Linked DNA regions of Homo sapiens: regions 2 and 3 are each linked to region 1. The links are contacts of gene promoters, found by promoter capture Hi-C in blood cells and fetal thymus (Javierre and others, 2016). All regions are on one chromosome and are shown on one strand. Each heading gives the region's core, a stretch centred on a gene start or on the middle of the fragment in contact. The rest is flanking DNA. Distances are from core to core; before and after follow the strand shown. Region 1 holds the start of ACTL10 (actin like 10). Region 2 overlaps CDK5RAP1 (CDK5RAP1 mitochondrial tRNA methylthiotransferase). Region 3 overlaps RALY (RALY heterogeneous nuclear ribonucleoprotein).

Region 1 (4,372 bases), core at 641-3,140:
AAATAAGCTGCCCTTCCCTTTGTGTGTTCAAGAAATATCTCCACCTCCCTTTGCTCCATAGCTCTTGTAAGGGGGAGGGAGCAGTGAGCAGGCCCGGGATTGTGCCTGACCCCACTTTTTACAGAAGGGGAAACTGAGGCACTCATAGTCAACAATGACCTGAGCACATGGCTAGGCACAGGGCTCCTCCTCCTGGTGACTTTCACATGAGATTTAGTAGCTTTTCAAGGGATCGCCCCTTGGGGCCTGGCATCGGATGTATGTCCAAATGGTACATGACGAGGGTTTGGAGGAACTCCCATATCTGTGGCATGGACACAAGTGGGGCATCACCTTTATTGCCATAAAGTAGGGCCCTGTGGGTAGGCAGCTGGACTGGCATTCTCTGAACTGGCAGTGGTTGGGGAGATTCAAACTGCAGTTCAAAATGAGGGTCCCATGGGTCCCAAATACCTTCTCCTGGCCCAGAAAGGGTATGGGGGTGACCCATCCAGTCAGCTCCAACCTCCAGGAGGACCCTGCCAGCTCCAAACACTTGACTCTTTAGATAGAGAGCTGTCCCCCAACGCAGTGCCACCCCCCCCAGTCCAGCCTGACTCAGTTGAACACATCGTACAGCAGCCTGGAGCCACACTCCTGGTACATGGCCCGAGTTATCCAGCGGCGCTGGAAGGAGTGCAGGGAGGCCACCATGGAGCCGCCGGTCCACACAGCCATGCCACGCCCATGCTTGGCCACCAGGTGGGGCCGCAGGGCCGCGTAGCCGTGCCGCCGGCACTGCGCCTCCAGCTCCTTGTCCAGGCGCTCGGCGAAGCCAGGAAACAGTGTGGAGCCGCCGGCTAGCACCACGGTGTCTGCCAGGCGTGTCCGCAGCGTTTTGGGCATCTTCTGCAGCGCCCGGAAGGCCAGCGCGGGCAGCCCCTGCTCAGCCTGGCCCAGCAGGCCCGGCTGGAAGATGGGTTCGGGGCAGCGGAAGCGCTCACTGCTGAGGCAGACGCAGCACCCGTTACCCACGCTGAAACTGGCCGGATGGTGGCGGGCGGGGTCGCGGAGGTCGCCCTCGAAGTCCAGGGACACGTAGCAGCTGCGCTTCTTGAGATGTGTGATGGCCTTGCGGGGCAGGGCCTGCTGCAAGAGGTCAGGGTTCGCCGCCACCAGCAGATCCCGCAGGTAGCGCGACAGGGTGCTGCCTGCCACGTTCAGTCGGAAGGTGGCCTGGTGCCACGAGTGACCCGCGTAGATGGGCGTGGCGTGGCACACGCCCGCGCCCGCCTCCACGGCCAGCCCGCTGAACGCGCCGGTGGAGCAGAGCGCCAGCAACGCGGTGCTAGCCATGTGGCACGCGGGCACTGCCAGGGTCTCGAACAGCAGCTCCGCCACCCTTTCGCGGCCCGCGGGCGGCGCCAACGGCGAGTCGCTCACCAGCACGGGCCACTGCTCTGGGCACACCCGCAGGCCGCCCACCAGCAGGCGCTCCCACAGCCCTTCCAGCGCCTCCCAGTCCGCCACCACGCCGTGCTTGATGGGGTGCGCCCGCGCCACGCCGCCCGCCAGCTCGCAGCCCGGCGCTCCGGGCAGCACCGGCCGGTCCCAGCTGGGCACCAAGCTAGAGCTCTTCAGCACTATGCGCGGCTGGTTCTCGCCCGCGAAGCCCGCCTTGGTGAAGCCCGAGCCCTGGTCCACCACCACCGCGATGCGGCCCAGGGAGGACGGCCGGTGCACGCGGCGGCTCCCCGACACCGACGCCACCTTCGGGCTCGGCCCAGCCGCGGGGCTGAAGGCTCCGCTCCTCCGCGCCACTCGGCTTCGTCGGCCCGATACCTCCCGGCCTCTGTCCTAGGGAGTAGTCCCCTTCAGCCTTTGGCTCTGCCTCCGGAGCCTAAGTTCTTCCTCTTCTGGACCAAATCACCACCCTTTTCAGCTCTTGGCTCCGCCCTCTGGTCTGAAAGCCCCGCCTCTTCTGTCCGGGCCATCCGCCTCCTTTTCAGCTCGTGGCTAGTTCCTAGGCCTGAGGCCCGGCCCCTAGTTCAGGCTTCAGTCTCCGCTCTGGCTGGGTTCCAGCCGCATCTCACCCTCTTGGTCTCCCTCTGGCGCCGGGCTTCAGGCTCCACGCTCTCAGGACCCGCCTCTGCTTTGCTGTTCCGCCCCGTCAGCCCTTGCTGAGATGGCTGACGAGATGGCTAGGACTGATCCTTTTAGATCCTAAGAAGCCCCCGGGAGGAGCAGAACTTTGAGGGCGAAGGGGCCTTGTGGTAAGGCCATTTGGACATATATCCCCCTTGAGGACCCAGGCAGCCTCCTGGCACCTCTCACCTGGGCTTGACGGAAGTTCCTGGTTGTGGAGAGGGGAGGGGCTGGTCAGAAGGCAGAAAAGAACTTGGATTGGGCTCATTGTGACCTCACTCCCCAGCAGCTGCACTTCGCAGCTCCCTACCTTATGACAACTCCCTGGACCCATCCTCTCTTCTGGACAGAGCCAAGGGCAGTGATTTTGGCATCCAGGGGTCTGGCTTCAGCAGCCCAGCACAGTCTGATTCCTTTCCCAAACCACTTAGAATTATCTGATGTACTCTGTCCAGATGTGTGGCCCCCTACCCCTCCCAGTGCTGAAGAAAAAGCTTTTTCATCACAGATCTGCAGCTTCCCTGAAGAGCCCCCGAGAGGCTCTGGCCCTACCTTTATGGGCTTCCACGGATGGATTCACGTGGGCCTCAGTTTGAGACTCAGTTCTTTTTTTTATTATTATTATTTTTGAGACGGAGTCTCGGTCACCCAGGCTGGGCGTGCAGCGTTGCAATCTCAGCTCAGTGCAACCTCTGCCTTCCGAGTTCAAGTGATTCTCCTGCCTCAGCCTCCTGAGTAGCTGGGACTACAGGCATGCACCACCATACGCGGCTAATTTTTGTATTTTTAGTGGAGACAGGGTTTCGCCACGTTGGCCAGGCTGGTCTCGAACTCCTGACCTCAGGTGATCCACCTGCCTTGGACTCCCAAAGTGCTAGGATTACAGGTGTGAGCCACCGCACCCAGCAAGACTCAGTTCTGAAGCTGACTCACTGTGCAGTCCTAAGCAAGTCTTGATCTTTCTCTGGGTTCGGTTTTCTCCTCCAAAAGGTAGTAATAATCCCCCCACACAGGAAAGAGGTCACTTCTTGTCTCTGCAAAGCCTCATCCTCCTGAGGACCAGTTTGGTTGCAGGTAGAAGACTCAGGTGAATGTAACCCAAAATAAGGACTTTATTGAAAGGATCTTACATGTTATGGATATCAAGAGCAAGGGTGAAATCAGGTTTCAGGAACAGAATCTGACTGCGGGGCTGTGGGGAACCCAGGATGTGCACTGCATTGTGTTGTTTGTTTTTTGAGATGGAGTCTCGCTCTCTTGCCCAGGCTGGAGTGCAGTGGTGTGATCTCAGCTCACTGCAACCTCTGCCTCCTGGGTTCAATTCCCCTGCCTTAGTCTCCCGAGTAGCTGGGACTACAGGCGCCCGCCATGATGCCTGGCTAGTTTTTTGTATTTTTAGTAGAGACGGGGTTTCACCGTGTTAGCCAGGATGGTCTCGATCTCCTGACCTCGTGATCTGCCTGCCTCAGCCTCCCAAAGTGCTGGGTTTACAGGCGTGATCCACTGCGCTTGGCCTGCATTGTGTTTTTATTCTGAAGGCTGGCTTAGCCTGTGCATGTTCAAGTAGAGAACATGGTCTCTTACAGCTCCTGAATCACAGTCCTAGGGGGAGGGGCTGACAGGACCAGCTTGGGCCAATCACTGTATGGGCAGGAGGTGCAGCCCCATGGAAGAACATGGTTACCCTGATTGTAACCATGTGGATGGTAGGGAAGAGTCAGTTCTCACAATTAGCAGGAGTGATGTTATAGCTCTTGCAGCCTCCAGCCTGGTGCAGGCAAGGTGGAGGAGATGTTCATCCTGGTGGCGGTGACAAAAGTGCATCTTCAGCAGAAGCTGGGCTGATGGCTGTAGTGAGCTGGGACTTCAGTCCTGCTGCATCTGCCCCCAAAAGAGGGCATCCTGAGGTTGGTCACCAGAGTGTGGCAGGAAGGCGGGCTGCAGGTTTGGCAGGCCAGGGGTGGCATTGGGTGTGGAGCTGGATTTGGGACCCGGGAGAGTGAGGAGAAGCAGCAGCAGGATCCCGCCCACAGAAAGTGTGGCAGGGCTTCTTCTAAGTGATTTGGGGAGTGAGACTGAAGCTGTGGGCTTTTTCCCTGTTGGTAATGGAGACCTGTTGAAAGCTTATGAGCAGGGGAGTGAGCTGCCCTAGACAGGTAAGTGGTTTGGAATTAGTCTTTGTCACGTGGGGAAGGAGATGGGACAGGGTAGGTTGGGAGACAGGTGCCTTGGGGAAGACTGGGGGGCC
Region 2 (4,974 bases), core at 2,399-4,898, 290 kb after region 1:
GCCACCACGCCTGGCTAATTTTGTATTTTTTAAGTAGAGACGGGGTTTCTCCATGTTGTTCAGGCTGGTCTCGATCTCCCGACCTCAGGTGTTCCTCCCACCTCGGCCTCCCAAAGTGTTGGGATTACAGGTAAGAGCCACTGTGCCTGGCTTAATTTTTGTATTTTTAATAGAGACGGGGTTTCACCATGTTAGGCTGGTCTCAAACTCCTGATCTCAAGTGATCCACCCGCCTCGGCCTCCCAAAGTGCTGGGATTACAGGTGTGAGCCCACTACGCCTGGCCTCATTTATTTTTTTCTTATTGAAAACGTATTTCAAAGTAGAGCATGTTGTTTCATCCTTCAGTATGCATCTCTAAAAAATAAGGATATTTTCTTTTTTAAACATTTAAAAATCTTTTTATTATTTATTTATTTATTTATTTTTGAGATGGAGTTTCGCTCTTTTTGCCCAGGCTGGAGTGCAATGGCACAATCTTGGCTCACCGCAACCTCCGCCTCCCAGGTTCAAGTGATTCTCCTGCCTCAGCCTCCCAAGTAGCTGGAATTACAGGTGTGCACCACTACACCCAGCTAATTTTGTATTTTTAGTAGAGATGGGGTTTCACCATGTTGGCCAGGCTTAGTCTCAAACTCCTGACCTCAGGTGATTCACCCGGCTCAGCCTCCCAAAGGGCTAGGATTACAGGTGTGAGCCACTGTGCCTGGCCTATTTATTTATTTACTTATTTATTTATTTATTTTGAGACAGAGTCTTGTTCTGTTGCCCAGGCTGGAGTGCAGTGTTATGATCTTGGCTCACTGCAACCTCTGCCCCCGGGACTCAAGTGATCCTCCTGCCTCAGCCTCCTGAGTAGCTGGGATTATAGGCACGTACCACCATGTGCTGCTAAAGAATATTTTTATTTTATTTTATTTATTTATTTAGAGACGGAATTTTGCTCTTTTTGCCCATGCTGGAGTGCAATGGCACGATCTCAGCTCACTGCAACCTCCACCTCCTGGGTTCATGTGATTCTCCTGCTTCAGCCTCCTGAGTAAATGGGACTACAGGCATGCGCCACCATACTTAGCTCATTTTTGTATTTTTAGTAGAGACGGGGTTTCACCATGTTGGGCAGGCTGGTCTCGAACTCCTGACCTCAGGTGATCTACCCGCCTTGGCCTCCTAAAGTGCTAGGATTACAGGCATGAGCCACCGTGTCTGGCCAAGAATATTTTTAATACCATTAGTTCTTCCAGTAAGATTAACAAAAATTGCTAAATACTGTCTCATTCCAGTTCATCCTTATTCGGAGTTCCCCAATTGTTCCTTAAGTCATTCTGCATTTGGTTTGTATGTCTTTTTATATATGTGTGTGTATTTTACTTAGTTTTATATCCTACTTTTTAATAAACTTTTTGTTTTGGAATGACTTTACATTTACAGGAAAGTTGCAAAGAGAGTTTCCTCGAGCATTGCCATCTTTCTTTGGTACATTTTTTGGTGCTGTAATCCCAGCACTTTGGGAGGCCAAGGCAGGAGGGTGCCTTGAGCGTAGGAGTTCAAGACCAGCCTGGGCAACACTGGGAGCTGCTGTCTCTATTACAAAACAAACAAAGCAAAAACTAAGAGATTAATATTGGTATGTTACTATTAACTCTCTTCAGACTTTATTTGGATTTTGCCAGTTTCTCCACTAATGTCTTACTTCGTTTCCAGGATCCAATCTAGGATCCACATTGCATTTAGTATATCCTGCTTTTTAGATTAACAGTATGTCACAACTTACACAAATAAATAGCCTTTATGGAGACTGGAGTTATGACAACTAAATGCATCGCACGGTCCTCGATTGGGATTCTGATCAGGGAAAAAAATGTTATAAAGAACATTATTTGGGCTGGGCGTGGTGGCTCACACCTGTAATCCTAGCATTTTGGGAGACCATGGTGTGCAGATTGTCTGAGCTCCGGAGTTTGAGACTAGCCTGGGCAACTTGGCAAAACCCGTCTCTACTAAAAAATACAAAAAGTTAGCCTGGCGTGGTGACACACGCCTGTAGTCCCAGCTACTCAGGAGGCTGAGGCAGGAGAATCGCTTGAACCTGGGAGGCGGAGATTGCAGTGAGCCAAGATCACGCTAGTGCACTCCAGCCTGGGCAACAGAGTGAGACTCTGTCTCAAAAAACAACAATAACAACAACAACAACAACAAAACATTATTTGGACTATTGGTAACATTTGATTTATGGAAAGTAGATAATAGTGTTGTATCAATATTTCTGATTTTGATAATTGTCCTGAAATTATATAGGAGAATGCCCTTGTTTTTAAGAAATATATACTAAAATATTTGGAAGTAAAAGAGTATGATATCTGTGACTTTTTCTCAGAAGGCTTAAAAAAAATGTAGTCATATGTGTGTTGAGAGAGAGTGTATATGAGTGTCTGAATGTGAATGATAAACAAATGGGGTGCAGTGTTAACATTTGATGAATTTGGGCAAAGAGTATATGGGAATTCTTTTAATATTGCAGTTTGTCTGTAAATTATGTCAAAGTTACAAAACAAGTCTTTTTTAGCAACCATTATTTGTGAAACTTTATAATATAACATTTCTATTTTTTGAGATGGAGTCTCGCTCTGTTGCCCAGGCTGGAGTGCAGTGGCATGGTCTCGGCTCACTGCAGCCTCTGCCTCCTGGGTTCAAGCGATTCTCCTGCCTCACCCTCCTTAGTAGCTGGGATTAGGTGCCTGCCACCACGCCCAGCTAATTTTTTGTATTTTTAGTAGAGAAGGGATTTCACCATGTTAGCCAGGCTGGTCTGAACTCCTGACCGTGTGATCCGCCCACCTTGGCCTCCCAAAGTACTGGGATTTCAGGAGGGAGCCACTGCACCTGGCCTATAATATAAATTTTCAAACAGACAAATAGAAAGACTAGTATAATAGAAAAACGTGATTGTTAACATTTTGTCATACACCTATCTCCATGCACCCATAAATGTATTTTTTCTGAACCATTTGAAGTAATTTGTAGACCTCAGGACACTTGCCCCTAGATACTTCAGTATGTATCTTCTATGAGTAACAATTTTTCTCTTCATAACCATGATATCATTATCATATGTATGAAAATCAATAGTTATTTAAGCCAGACACTTTGGGAGGCTGAGGTGGGAGGATTGCTTGAGTTTAGGAGTTTAAAACCAGTCTGTGCAACATGGTGAAATCCCATCTCTACAAAAGTAAAAAAAGGTAGTCCCAGCTACTTGGGAGGCTGAGGCAGGAGGACTGCTTAAGCCTGGGAGGTTGAGGCTACAGTGAGCTATGATCGTGCTGCTGCACTCCAGCCTGGGCAACAGAGGGAGACCCTGTCTCAAGAAGAAGAAGAAAAAAATCTAAAACAGCTCTTTTATTTTTTGTTGTTGTTGTTTTCTTTAAATGATGCATTAACTTTTTGAAGAGATCAGACATGAGTCTCCTTTGTCTGATTTTTTCCTCATGTTGTCATTTAATATATCTCTGTGAATTCTAGTAACTGGAAGTTAGGTGTAAAAGCTTGATTAGTTCAGGTTAAATATTTCTGGTGAGAATACTTTATATAGTCATGGTGTATAACATTCAAATGACAGATCTATCATAAATTAACCATTATTGTGGATTATTGAGTTTGTTTCCAGTTTTGATTCTAAATAATGTTTTGAAGATTAATTTTTATATAAGGCTTTATTAGGTTTAGCTCTTTAGGTAAGATGTCTAAGCTTGAAATTATTCGGTTATAGACACAACACACTTATAGGTGACTCTTGGTAGGTTCGATTTTTCTTTTGTTTAAAACAAAAGATATGTTAATTTCAGCTAATTTTTAATTAGTGTTTTTTTATGAAGCTACCCAAAAGTTTTAAAATTCCAATATATTTTCCCATGTTTAGGGGCTGAAAGAAGTGACACTTCTTGGTCAGAATGTTAATAGTTTTCGGGACAATTCGGAGGTCCAGTTCAACAGTGCAGTGCCTACCAATCTCAGTCGTGGCTTTACCACCAACTATAAAACCAAGCAAGGAGGACTTCGTTTTGCTCATCTTCTGGATCAGGTCTCCAGAGTAGATCCTGAAATGAGGATCCGTTTTACCTCTCCCCACCCCAAGGATTTTCCTGATGAGGTGAGCGTCAGGTTAGCTGTGACAAACTGATATTAGTATTCTTGAGCATGCCAAAGGCTGGACCCAGTAGGGATGCAGCAGAGACCTGGAGTCCTGCTTAGGGATCCTGTGGGGTATTGCTGCATCACCCTCCAGATCTGCTGGTCCTTTGAAGATTTGAAGTCCACCAGTGGCTGGGCACGGGGCTTACACCAATAATCTCAACACTTGGAGACGCTGAGGCAGGTGGATTACTTGAGCTCAGGAGTTGGAAACCAGCCTGGGCAACATGGCGAAACCCCGTCTCTACTGCAAATACAAAAAATTAGCTGGGTGGGGTGGGATACGACTGTAGTTCTGGCTACTTGGGAGACTGAGGTGGCATACGACTGTAGTTCCAGCTACTTGGGAGACTGAGGTGGGAGAATCACATGAGCCCAGGAAGTCGAGGCTGCAGTGAGCCGAGATCGCACCACTGCACTCCATCCTGGGTGAGATAGCGAGACCCTGTCTCGAAAAAAAAGTCTGCCAAGGTGGGAGTGGAGGTAGGACTGATATTCAGCGGGAGGTTAAGACCACCTGCGGGACCGTGAGGGCTGTACAGAGAGGATTTGTTACAAAGTGGGCAGCTGAGTGGTAATAATGGTGGTGGGGCGGTAATGGTGGTGTGGGGTGGACAGGAAGGAGGTGATGTGGTGCTCTGGGAAACAGCCCAGACTTTCGCCTCAGACCCGGGTTCAAATCTCAGCTTTTCCACTGTTTTACCAGCGAGCATGTGATGTTTTCAACTTTTCATCTTTATCTGTAAAATGGGGTTAATAAGGGGTTAACAATTACCTCCTGCTT
Region 3 (4,844 bases), core at 2,268-4,767, 410 kb before region 1:
GGGGGACAGGGCTGTCACCTAGGGGGCTGGAGGCTTGACACTAGCACAAAACCTCAGCCCTGTTCTTTCAACCAGGAAAGCAGTTATTTTTTGTTTTGTTTTGTTTTTTCCCTGCTTAGGAAAAAGGTCTCCTCCTTAGACTACCTGGCGTCCATCCCTACAGTGACAGCACACACTTCTGAACCTGGCTATCTTTTCTCCTGATCTCTCAACTCTGAAAGGGACCAAAGACAGACAGGAGCACAGGTGTGTATGTGTGGTGTGCTCTTCTGTGTGCACCTGAGCAAGAACATGTGTCTTTTGGAATCTGAATTCCTGGGTGATTAGTTAAGCAGCATGTGTGTACCAGAGTGAATGTGGAGTAATGGGCCTGGGTAGACCTGTCCTTATCCTTACTAGAGGAAAGATGGCACCATTTCTTCACTGGGCACCATATCCAGCACTGGACTCTCTGTGCCCAACACAACCCCTCCTCCTAAAACATCAGCTGTTTCCTCTTAGAAATGCATGAAAATACTTGGCTGTGTTAGAGCAGCAGAACTGTGGAAGACTTGTTGTTTTATCTATGTTCCAATGTAAAAAATGTGATTCTATTATTTTGCTAATGATAAAAATGCAAATTACTTAGGAATATGATACAGTCACTCACACTTGATCTTGGCTGAGCTGGTGGTGACAGCTGTGGAGCGGGCAAAGAGCTTGACAGGTACGTTAGTTTTGACACGCCGGACCAAAGGGACTGTGACCCGGGGTCGCTTCACAGGGACCGCCCTGGGCACTGGCACGGGCGACAGACGGCCCCGGTAGTCGAAGAGCCTGTGAGGGCAGATGGGCCAGAGGCTGCAGCATGGCTTGTGGCCACCAGGGCGGTATTGCAGCTCCGGCTACAAACGTGTGTGGCTGGTGAGGGGCTGGGAGGCCTGCACTACACACCTCTGCTGGCTCCTAGCAAGCCCTGGAGTGAAGAGGAAGGGCTTGCCGGACCCTGATGGCTGTTGGGATCCTCACTACCTCACTACAACCTCTCCAACCATCCAGGCCCAGTAAGGGCAGGCAAGGCATCAGGTGGTAGCAGTTATACCCCATTCAAAAGAGGAGACATCCCTAGGTCCCCTGGCACCCAGGCCTGCTCTATTACATGACCTGGCTTCTGCTTGGTCAACTGCCACCCCAACCTCTGCTCAGAGTTTGCAAATCTCAAAGCAGCACAAATCCCCAGCTAGGAATAGAGAGGTATGGGAGTGGGGGTCAACTGAGCCTACCTGAGCCTCAGTTTCCCCATATGCCAAATGAGGATGGCTATCCACATTCAGTGTCCACCCAAGGGCACAGCATGAAAGAATTCGGTTAAAAACACACTTTAGAACGTGTAATAGATGAAAGGTCAGGGTACTGAGACCCTCAATTCACGAACCCATGACCTCAGAGGCATAAGACTGAACTCTAAGCCCTTTCCTTACTTGACCTCCTTAATCACCACATCCTTCGTGCTCCATTCCAGAGACAAAGGCCAGGGGCTTGGTAGAGTATCAAGGTTGGGCAGCTCAATCAGACCCCCCCAGGGCTCCCAGGCTGTGCACTGCCCCCAACCAAAGTCATCTCCAAGCCCTCTCTAGGAGGGCTTCCTTTCCAGCTGACCAGGCAGAAACTCAGTAGGCTGAGAAGTGGTCTCTCTGACATCTGTTGCTGCCACCTTTTTCAGGGAATCGCAGCCCAGGGGGTAAACTTTGGGTCAATTTTCCTGACAACGGCCAGGAAACCTGCCATCACTGGGCAAAAGCCCCATTCCTTGGGGCTCCTTTGTTCAGGGAGCCCCTTCCTGGAGGTGGTGATGGCTGCAGATGGAGAGTCTCTGGGAATGGATCCGATCCCAGACCCTGCATTTCTGCCCCCAAGGGGAGGGAACGGCTCTGGCCTTGGTCAGAATCACTGAACCACAGAATCCCAGAGCTGGAGGAGCCTGGAGAGATCACTTGGTGCAAGCCCATTTCACAAACTGGGAAGGGAATTTGCCCAAGATCACATAATCCATTCAGTGGCAGAGCTGAGATTAGCATCTAAATCTTCTGACCCCCAGGCTAAGACACTTTCCACTACACCACACTGTCTCCTGAAACGACTCACAGGGGCGGGGTGGGGATGGGGGCGGACGACTCATGCTCAGAGAGGCACTGTTCTTCTTGGGCTGCCTGGGGTGGGCTAAGCTGGACAGAGGGAGAGAAGCAGGGAGGAGGAGAGATTTGAGTTAGTATCTACCATGATTTCTACTCAAGAATGTGGCTAGTGCTGTTGTAGTGGGAGCCCACAGCCTCTGGGCTGGAGTCTGGGTAGGGCTTGGGAGTGCAGGGTAGACCACAGCCCGCCAGGGACTAATTAGACTTCCAAATGGCTGCTGGCCTCTTGTCTCTAAATATAAACCCAAGAAGCTTAGACTGAGCTCTGGGGCTCCTACCAGCTGCTTGGGCACCTCACAGAGGGAAGGGCTCAAACTCCCTGCAACCAGCGCTGTACCCTGTTGTGTATTCCAACTAGCCACACTTACATAGCTCTTGGCTGTACGGTCTCCTTGAGCCTCACCCAAGGACAAGAAGGAAAAAGGGCAGTTAGCATGGCAGACAGTGTTGTATGGTGGTAGGAGCTCTGGCCTGAGCACCTGCAGCACAGGACCCCAGTCTCAGCTCTGCTACCGACTGGTGGAGCAACCCCAGGCAAACCTCTGGGTTTTGGTTCTCATTTGGAGAACTCAGTGGGCTGCACCAACAATCTCTCAAGACCCTTCCAGCTTGGCTGTTTCATGCCTGGGCACGCCCCTCCCCTGCTCACCTGTCGTAGAAGTCGTCCCGGTAGTAATCATAGTCAAAGATGTAGCCACTGGGGAAACAAAGGGGAGAGGGCTGGAGCTTAGGGACGGCCACTCAGCCCACTTTCCACAGGCCCTCATCTCCAGACACCTCCCCAAGTTCTAGATTCAGCACACTGTCACACCAGCATTTACTCCCTCTGTGGAAAGAGAGAGTCATCCCACCAGACAGACAGACAGTCAGACAGCCCCACCTGTATATGGCAGATGCTGCTCTCTTTAGCCCCTTGGGTCTGTCAGGCTTAGGCTCTCCAGCCATGTTGATGTCTGTGTGGAGGGAGAAGGCAGAGTTGGAATGCTAACATGACAGTGTGCCCACACACATCAACCTCATGCACACGCACAGCAATTCATGTGCTTACACGGTATACACATGGATTCTGCTCACTGATGGTGCCAACAAAGGTCTTCATACATCTAATCTTCAAACATTAGATTCATATCCAGGTATCACATGGATATGCCTGTTTATATGTCCATACACTTTCAGATCCATCCAGGCATGCTCATAAACATGTCCTCCCCCCCGCCCCACCACACACACACGTCGAATATTCCTATATGCATTCTCAAATACACTCATGTAAATGCGTAACACATCAGGTACATGGGAACGCATACACAGAGCCACACTCACACATACATTCACATATCCAGGTAAGAAACTCACACACAGGTAACGTGTATTCTCAAGTACACTCAGTATAGACAACTACCCACATGCAAATGAGCCAATGCACATTCACATGGATGTTCTACCAAACACCTTCATGCCTAGAATAGTCCTTACTACATGAAAAGGTCTCAATAAATACCTGGTAAATGAATATATGTATATCTGCTGACACATTCAAATATGTTCTCTCTCTCACACACACACACACACACACACACACACACTACATCTATACATACAAGGGTTGTGTCCACATATCTCCACATGTTCAGTCAATCCATATACTTCTTGTTCAGGAAAAAACACATACAGATACCCCTTTTCAAACATACACATATACACAGGAGTAAATGCACATGCATGAACACTGTACATACTTCAAGAGAGACCACTAGCATAGTCATATCACATGGACATGACACCAAAACCAAGCGTATTCACACTGTCCTTGTGCTCTCAGGCCCTCCTGCTCGCTCTCAGAAAGGGTTCTAACCTAAGTCATCTGTACCCGGTGTAACAGGCTGTTCTAGGCCACTCTGTTCTCTTTCTCTGGAGAATCTGCATTTTAACTGGAACTGTAAAGCCTGTCACTAAGAAGCTCTGAGAAAGCAGAGACAGGTCAGAAGTGTTTTCCAGAGGCTTCTAAAATTCTTCCCTATAGGGATTAATTTTATAACTATTTAAAACTTAAACATAGCTTATAAATTTATAAAATCTCAGAGCAGTGGTAGCGGTGAGAGAAAGAGAGAAGGGGGTTGAGAACTGGATAGTGATAGCAGCTATTCTAGAGAATACTAGGAGAATATAGTGAAGAGAGGCTTACCCAGGGTCTGCCCGGCCAGCACCCGCCCATTCTCTCCCAGCACAGCTGCCCGGGCATGGCGCTCATTGGAGTACTGAACAAAGGCATAGCCCTTGTGCACAGAACAGCCGGCCACACGGCCATACTTAGAGAAGATGGTCTCCACATCTGATTTCTTCACCAGAGCTGTGTTGAGGTTTCCAATGAAGACTCGAGAGTTGATGGACTTGGGGTCATTCTTGTTGGTTACATTGCTTGCCTGAAGCTTCAAGGACATGGTGCCCACCTGAAGAAAAAGAGCCTCGGTGAAGCTGGGTCCCTGGGCTGGGCTCAAGGACTGCCCACGGCCCATATCCTGGATAAATGAATTGCCTCTTACCTTCCTTAACCCTTATAGCATCCAGCCTACCTGTTCCTGCATCTTGTTTTCTTGTCATATTACCAAGAGTTGCCACATATTGGCTGCTGACCTCATGCCAGGTGCTTTACATACATTCCCTCATTTG

What was found. Contacts are between HindIII fragments. The CHiCAGO score rates a contact against its expected background, and 5 or more counts as called.
Region 2: a fragment that was not itself captured here is called in contact with the fragment with the promoter of ACTL10 in region 1 in 3 of 17 cell types (megakaryocytes, endothelial precursors and naive B cells); the score reaches 5.6 in megakaryocytes.
Region 3: a fragment that was not itself captured here is called in contact with the fragment with the promoter of ACTL10 in region 1 in 1 of 17 cell types (endothelial precursors); the score reaches 7.2 in endothelial precursors.

The regions. Positions count from the first base shown.
Region 1 is chr20:33,664,461-33,668,832 of GRCh38, reverse strand. It overlaps ACTL10 (actin like 10), which reads right to left and starts at 1,890. Exons shown (of 1, transcript NM_001024675.2): 1 at 308-1,890. The coding sequence starts at 1,335. The coding sequence ends at 598. All of the region lies in intron 5 of NECAB3 (N-terminal EF-hand calcium binding protein 3), which reads left to right. RefSeq lists enhancers at 1,088-1,167, 1,978-2,197, 4,048-4,372 and a silencer at 1,518-1,847. The HindIII fragment of the contact is 8,805 bases long and covers 1-2,620 here.
Region 2 is chr20:33,378,636-33,383,609 of GRCh38, reverse strand. CDK5RAP1 (CDK5RAP1 mitochondrial tRNA methylthiotransferase) reads left to right here. Exons shown (of 14, transcript NM_016408.4): 8 at 3,919-4,149. Among named protein-coding and RNA genes, the nearest start is that of CDK5RAP1, 20 kb to the left of the region's middle. The HindIII fragment of the contact is 203 bases long and covers 3,547-3,749 here.
Region 3 is chr20:34,071,846-34,076,689 of GRCh38, reverse strand. It overlaps RALY (RALY heterogeneous nuclear ribonucleoprotein), which reads right to left. Exons shown (of 10, transcript NM_016732.3): 3 at 4,360-4,624; 4 at 3,055-3,127; 5 at 2,824-2,871; 6 at 650-816. The coding sequence starts at 4,615. Among named protein-coding and RNA genes, the nearest start is that of MIR4755, 25 kb to the right of the region's middle. RefSeq lists an enhancer at 1-290. The HindIII fragment of the contact is 2,177 bases long and covers 2,429-4,605 here.